Regions from separate parts of the Homo sapiens genome. Here region 2 is linked to region 1. The links are contacts of gene promoters, found by promoter capture Hi-C in blood cells and fetal thymus (Javierre and others, 2016). All regions are on one chromosome and are shown on one strand. The core of a region is centred on a gene start or on the middle of the fragment in contact, and the rest is flanking DNA. Distances in the headings are between cores, read along the strand shown.

Region 1 (3,704 bases), core at 738-3,237:
TATCTCTGGGCCTGTTTCAACCCTAAAATCAGAGGGGAAACGTGCACTCCCTTTCAGTTTAACAAGCAGTCTCTGATTTCCTCCAACTGTGGAGAAATTCTGATTCTAGAAGAGAATGGATGTTAACCACCTAAGCTCTTAGCTAGTCTACCTGAATATTAAATATCCCCTTAACTCATTTCCAATTCCTAATCATGAAGCAATCACTTAAGGCTTGTAGCAACAGATGTCAAACTAAAAAGTTCTTAATTGGTTGACAATAGGCACAGCTTCAGAATTGTTAACTAGAAGTGGTGAAGTCACACGGGAGGAGTTTCCTATAATAAGCCACAAAGAGCAGGGCAATCCGATTTAAATTTAAATATCCACCCCCTTATTTCAAAAGAAACTACCACTAAGAAAATTGATTTCTTTTCTTCCCCCCTCCAGTCACATCGACTGCAAGAGCCATTTCTCAAGACCTGGCCTTGGCCTTATTTCTGCCACATCCTAGAAAAACCCATTCCCACAGCTGCCTGCGAAGCAGCTAGCTCGGTGACCCTCTGCTGATACCGAGGATGCGGGAGCCAGGGAAGTAACTGCCACCTTTCTCTGTCTGAAGGAATAACAGGGTTCCTAGAAGGAGAGAGAAGTTGGAAAAGAGCCGGGTATCTTCATCACTCCCCGCTCCGATTCTTGCTCCTTCAAGGGCCAACAAAACTAACCCACCTCTCCCTGCTCTAAAGTCTAAACCAATAAAACAAGTTGGAAACTGCTGTCCAATCTTTCCAGGCAGCAGGAGTCCTGAAGCCCCCGCCCCCATCCTCCCGGATCTGGGTAGAATCACAGTCAGAGCATGTCAGCGCTGGAGCGGCCTTTGAAATGCGGAGTCCAACTCAGTTCTGCAGAGCCGGGGCGGCGAGGCCCACGGCGGGGAGTGCCCGGGGAGTCCCGACTGGAGCCCAGGGCAGCGGACGGAGAGCTGGGGGCGCCGGGGCCCAGACGCGAGCGGGGGCGGACTCACGCTCTTGTCGATGTCCAGCTTGAGTTTCTTCTGCGAGATGCTCTTCTGGACCCTCTTGCTGAAGGAGGCGTTGCCCGCGGGCCGGACGCAGCGCTCGCCGTCCTCGATGAGGCAGCAGCTCTGGCCGTAGCCCGGGGCGGCGGCAGCTGGGGCGGCGGGGGGCCCTTCGCGGCTGTCCTCCTCCGTGCTGAAGCCGTTCATCTCCCCGCCCCGGGCCGGTCCCTCTGGGGGAGGGTCCCCGGTAGGCCACTCCGCGGCCGCGCTTGCCGCGGGGCAGGTCGCTGAGACCCCCGCAGCCGAGGGTCCCAGAGTCCGTCTCCAGCCCGGGCGCTGCCCTGCCCCGCGTCCGAGAGGCCCGGCTCCCTCGGCCCCCGGCCCTCCGCCTCCGGAAGCCCCCTTCCTCCCGGCTCGAGGCCCCGGGGTCGGCTCCCGCGGCTCGCAGGGCCCCGCCGGGGGTCACCCGGAGGAGCCTTCTGCCGGGGGCCCAGAACCGTAACCCTGCAGCGGGGGTGTCCGGGAGGGCGTCCCAGGAAACAGCCGCTCCCCAAGGACTCCGGGCCTGGGTTGCCAGGGGGTTTCGAAGGCCCCTGCCGGCTCCCGCCTTCTTTCGGCAGCGGGGCAAACTCGCTGCCGGGCAGCTCCCCCGGGGTGGCGCGGCCTCCTCGCGCGGGGCCCGGCCTCGAACCCGCGGCACCCGGGCCCCGCGGCTCGTCCGGCCCACTCCACCCCTGCAGCCACTCGGCTGCGCCCCGAGTCCCGCGGCAGCCCCTGGGCCGCCCGGCCGCCGCCCGCCGAACGCTCCGCACCACAACAGTTCGCTCCCCCCGCCCTTCGCGGGACAGCGGAAGTCCCGCCTTCACGCGACCATTGGTCTCATTTGCTCTCTGGGCGGGGCTGCCGCCGCCGCTGGCGCGTCCCATTGGGCGTCGCCGCCGCCAGTCTCCGGCGCCAGGCTACTTCCTGGACTCTGCTGGGATGGGTTCAAAGTAGAGAAAGTGGAAGAGGAAAGAGTTACCCCAGCGAGAACCGGGAACCGGGCTGCAGACTCTCCGGCCCGGGGGAGGGATGGTGAGCAGGGGCCTGGCTGGACCGAGGGCCAGACTCCAGGAACAGAGGAACACATTCGGGGACAGACAGTAGAGACGCGGACGGGGACGCTGAGGGACAGACTTGGAGGAGGGGCATATGAGGGGACCTAAAGAGGATAGAGGTGCTATCAGGAGAGGGGCGGACTAATAAAATGAAAGGGCCAGGGCCAGAGGACTCGCGGATCCGTGGGAGGAAGGGTGGGTGAAATAGGACGGAAAGCCAGTCATGGCGGGAAAGACAGAGGGACAACCCCATACAGATACGTGGAAAGACATGCGGAGGAGGTGATGGGGGGATCTTGCAAGGCAGTCGCAATATTGGGGGTAGCCGATACCTTCCAGAGTGTGGAGAGTGGGACTGGCTTGGACGGCGCGGAAAGAAAAGGAGAGGGGGAAAGGAGACCCCGAGGGGTTTGGGCGACCCCTCCACTGGGAAGAATGGGAAGTCCGAATGAGGTCTGGAGGGTGGACTAGGTGAGCCGCGGGCAAGAGAAAGGGCTTCAGGGGAGATGAAGTGAAGGCTGGGAGTGGGGCCCAGGGGCCAATCTCGGAATCTAGATGGGGAAGGGCTGCGGTGTCTTGGGCTCTCCCTGGAGCTCCAAGCTGTAGTTCTATTGCTTTGAGTCCCCGGGTCTACCGGCGAAGCGACTGCGCCCTGCCAAGACCCTGCGCTTGGTTTCGGCGCCCAGGGCACCACCTCCCCTCCAGGAGGGGCCGTAGGATATGCTCTGGTCCAGCACTTCAGTCATGCCACTCTCCAACTGCGCAGCATGGGGACTGATGAGGTCCGAAAGGCGATGGGACCAGCCCAGGGTCGTGTAATTATGTAGGGCTGGGCAGCGTTTTATGGGCAGGGAAGAGGGGAGGCTGTGTTAGGTGATAGGTAAGCAAGTGTTAGTACTAGAGGGCATAGAAGGAGCTTCGGGTTTGTGTCCTGTTGTAAAAGGGAAAGCTACCAGTTTCCATGTTTAGAAGCAGGTGGCTGGTGATCTTAAGTTTTGCTCAGTGGCCATAAATGCATTTGTAGCATCTGAACTGGTAATTTCACACGTGGGACAGCCATCGTCGGAAATAGGCCTATCAGAGATAATATGAAGTACAGTGATGTTCATTATGGAATTATTTATAATAGGAAAAATAAAATAGAACCTCAGAGTTCCAAAAGGGAAGTGGTTAAGTAAACTACCTAAAATCTTCAGAAAGAGATTGTGCAGTTAGCATTTGAGGTAGTTTCAACATCAATGTAAACATTTTCTATAGAGAATAATTCACCATTAATTCTTAAATAAAGAGCTGATGAGGAGTTGGAGAAATGCTTTTTTTATGATAAGTAAAAAAATTCAGGATATGAAATTGCATGGAGGATACGATGTCTGTACATCTATGTTTAAAGAAAAAAGAAAACTATTGGTATAAAAAATGCACCAAAGTACTAACAGTGATTATTTCTGGGTAGCAGGAATATGGCTGATATTTTTCTCCTTTTGTTTAACCTTTGCATTTTCTTTAATAAGCATTATTTTTGTTTTTACAGTAGAAAAAATAGAATAAAAATTAATGGAAAAAAGGCACAGATTAATAGGAGTCTTCCCTCAGAGTTCATATATTCTGTT
Region 2 (3,704 bases), core at 716-3,215, about 14 Mb before region 1:
AAAATATTGGCCAGGCATGGTGGCTCACGCCTGTAATCCCAGCACTTTGGGAGGCCTAGGCAGGTGGATGACTTGAGGCCAAGAGTTCAAGACCAGCATGGCAAACATAGCGAAACGCTGTCTCTACTAAAAATACAAAAATTAGCTAGGCATGGTGGCGCATGCCTGTAATCCTAGCTACTTGGGAGGCTGAGGCAGGAGAATTGCCTGAATCCCAGAGGCTGAGGTTGCGGTGAGTCGAGATCGTGCCACTGCACTCCAGTCTGCTTGACAGAGCGAGACTCTGTTTCAAAAAAAAAGAAAAAGAAAAAGAATATATTAACCACACATACATGTGTTTTGGGAGACAGGAATCGGAGTAAGTATATAATGGGATATGCCTCATGTCTCATATCCCTAGTTCTTTTCTTTGGCTCGATAAACACTCTGATTTAGCAAGAGTAGTTAAGTTTCAGGTTGACCAACCTGCTTTTATTCCCAAATCCTATGACCTGGGACTCTTAAAAAACCCAAATGTCCTTTGTCACATTCAAAATAGCTCAAGGGTCTGCCTTTCACCCTTTCTGGGACTAAACAATTTTCCCATTTCTTCCTGTTTCCAGTGTCTTAGGTCCTAGACTAGACCAGACCAGGCTTTGTAGTTTAACATCTAAAACTAAAGACATGTCAATTCAGAAAGAAATAAAGCTTCCAACTTAAACTGCAAAACTCAGGGGGAGTTCCTCACCTGAAATTTCAGAATACTTACTGGGAGATAGCTACAGCCAAAACCAAATTGCCAAAAATGAGCATACATTATGTTCCAGGAGCTGAGCTAAAAACACTTTTCAGAAATTACCTTCATGATTATCACAACCAAGTGAGGCAAAGATAAATACATACCGATAAATAAATGGCTCAGAAATGTAAAGAGCTTGCCAATTTACTTGACTAACTTGTACTTTGTGACTGCTGATTAAGTATACAGCCGTAACAGGACAGAGTACTGTGAACTATCTTCCTACCATCCCTCCCCACCTGGGCATAAAAGGTAATGGAACTGTTCCGCTTTCACTTTTTTTTTTTGTAGGGGGACGGAGTCTCACTCTGTCGCCCAGGCTGTGGTGCAGTGGTGTGCTCTCTGCTCACTGCAAGCTCCGCCTCCCGGGTTCACGCCATTCTCCTGCCTCAGCCTCCCGAGTAGCTAGGAATACAGGGACCCCCCCCAACACAGCCGGTTAAGTTTTTTTGTATTTTCAGTAGAGACGGAGTTTCACTGTGTTAGCCAGGATGGTCTCGATCTCCTGACATCGTGATCCGCCCACCTCGGCCTCCCAAAGTGCTGGGATTACAGGCATGAGCCACCGCGCCCGGCCGCTTTCACTTTTATATGGTGTGGCTGCTCCTTCCCGACGAATGCTGAGGGCACAGAGCAAGCTCCGCTGGTCTGATAATGAATCACCCCATGGGCTTATTAGGAATCCTCTCGCTCAGTAACCCGGGAAGAACTGCGGCTGAGCTGCAAACCAAGACCCAGAGCTCTGAATGTATTCCCCCCTTGTCTATCTCCCCGCATCCCCTAAATCGCGTGTGTATGCAGAAGAGGAGGTGGATTGTAGGGAGAGAACTGTTCTGAACATGCCAGGCTCCAGCCCACCGAAGACGCTGGTTTGGGGGAGGCCTGGGAGAGGGTGGGGACCCTCCATTCCGCTGAAAATCACAGTCACACGGGCTTTGAAATGATGGGTGCTTCCTCTCTCAACCCTTCCTGTTCCCACAGGGACCGTGCCGCTCCACTCTGAGAGGACCAGGATGGTCCTCGCCTAGCTGTCCCGCCCCCGAAGCCGCTTGGGCAGGAGTCAGAGCCTGCTCCATCTCTTTCAGGCCTTCCCGCCGGTCTCCTGCGTCCAAACCTGCTGCAGCAGCCGCGCGGAGCACTCAGACACCAGTACGTCCATCCTCCCATCAGCGTCTCACTCGCCAAGTGGACGGAAGCGGAAACGGTCAGCCTCTCCCGGAAGCGGAAACCCCCTCCGGTCCGCTGTCCCGTCGGACTGGGTGCTGGCGCCTCTGCTGCCTCCTGGCGGGATCCAGTAGACACTGCGAGGAGAACCCGCGGGGATTTCGGTCAGGAGCGAGGCCGCAACTCAGGGACGTTTGGGCGAGGGGAGAGGAATTGAGCAGACACTAACCAGAGCTGCTCTGTGCTTGGATAGACTAGGACAGTCACTGACCTAGAGCTTCTGGCTCTCAAAGGCCTCACTTTGCCCCTTTGTGAAATGGGCACAAAACTAACAAATCCATTCATTTATTCAACAAACATTTATTGTGTACTTTAAAATGCCAGACAGTATTCTAGGCTCTGGGGGCACAAAGAAAACAAAACAGACACGATCTCCCCTCTCACGGCAGACACATTTTAGAATGGAGAGAGAAAATAGACCAAAAAAGGCAATAATCTCAGGTAGTTTTAATTGCTAGGAAGGCAATGTGATAGAGTGACTTGGGTGAGAGAAGACATCTCTAAGCAAGTGACATTTGAGTTAAAATCTTATTTATTTTTCCAGTTTTATTGAGGTATAATTGACAAAGATTGTATATCATAACGATGTACAACGTAATGTTTTGATATATGTATACATTCTGAAATGATTACCACAACCAAAATAATTAACATAACCTTCATCTCATACAGTTATCATTTGCATGTGTGTGTGTGTGTGTGTGTGCGCGCGCGCGCGCGCGCGTGTGTGCTGTGAACATTTAAGATCTATTCTCATCCTGGGAAACAGCTAAGACCTCGTCTCTACAAAAAAATGGAAAAATAGCCGGGCATGGTGGCATGTGCCTGTAGTCCCTGGTATATAGGAGGCTGAGGTGGGAGGATCACTTGAGCCCAAGAATTTGAGGCTGCGGTGAGCCATGATCATGCCACTGTACTCTGCCTGGATGACAGAGTGAGACCTTTTCTCTCTCTATTTAAAAACAAACAAAACGAAACGAAAACGAAAACTGCAAGTATACAATATACATTACATCTCTAGAATCTATTCATCCCGCCTAACTGAAACTTTGTAACTTTGAGCAACATCTCCCATCTTTCCTACCTCTGAAGCCCTGACAACCACCATTCTATGCTCTGCTTCTATGAATCTGAATTTTTTAGATTACACATATACATGGGCTAATGTAGTATTTGTCTTTCTGTGCCCGGCTTATTGCACCAACATAATGTTCTCCAGGTTCATCTATGTTGTCACCCATAACAGGGTTTTCTTTTATAAGGCTGAATAATATTTCATTGTATATATATTGAGTTAAAATTATAAACAGCAAACCTGGGATATATGTTCTAAGAGGGCAGGGACCTTAATTATCTTGTTCACTCTTCTCTATGACTCCAGAACTTAGAAAGTAGCACTCTAAACGTTTTCGCTTCCGTGCCTCATAAAAGTATTTTAAAAATTCATATCCCAGTGTATACTTTTAAAAGTTGACATCGAGCTAGGCACAGTGGCTCATGTCTGTAATCCTAGCACTTTGGGAGGCTGAGGCAGGCAGATTTCTTGAGCCCAGGAGTCCAAGACCAGCCTGGAAAAAATGGTGAAACATCGTCTCTACCAAAAATACAAAACATTAGCCAGGCATGGTGGTGTGCACCTGTAGTCCCAGCTATATAGGAGACTTAGGAGGCAGGATTGTTTAAACCCAAGAGTTTGAGGTTG

Evidence for each region. Contacts are between HindIII fragments. The CHiCAGO score rates a contact against its expected background, and 5 or more counts as called.
Region 2: the fragment with the promoter of RARS1 here is called in contact with the fragment with the promoter of SAP30L-AS1 in region 1 in 5 of 17 cell types (non-activated CD4 T cells, fetal thymus, monocytes and 2 more); the score reaches 11.6 in non-activated CD4 T cells.

The regions. Positions count from the first base shown.
Region 1 is chr5:154,444,105-154,447,808 of GRCh38, reverse strand. SAP30L-AS1 (SAP30L and GALNT10 antisense RNA 1) reads left to right here and starts at 1,987. Exons shown (of 3, transcript NR_037897.1): 1 at 1,987-2,071. It overlaps SAP30L (SAP30 like), which reads right to left and starts at 1,812. Exons shown (of 4, transcript NM_024632.6): 1 at 1,004-1,812. The coding sequence starts at 1,204. RefSeq lists silencers at 1,169-1,278, 1,409-1,938 and enhancers at 1,515-2,015, 2,069-2,188. The HindIII fragment of the contact is 8,481 bases long and covers 1-3,704 here.
Region 2 is chr5:168,484,732-168,488,435 of GRCh38, reverse strand. RARS1 (arginyl-tRNA synthetase 1) reads right to left here and starts at 1,965. Exons shown (of 15, transcript NM_002887.4): 1 at 1,893-1,965. The coding sequence starts at 1,937. The HindIII fragment of the contact is 3,317 bases long and covers 690-3,704 here.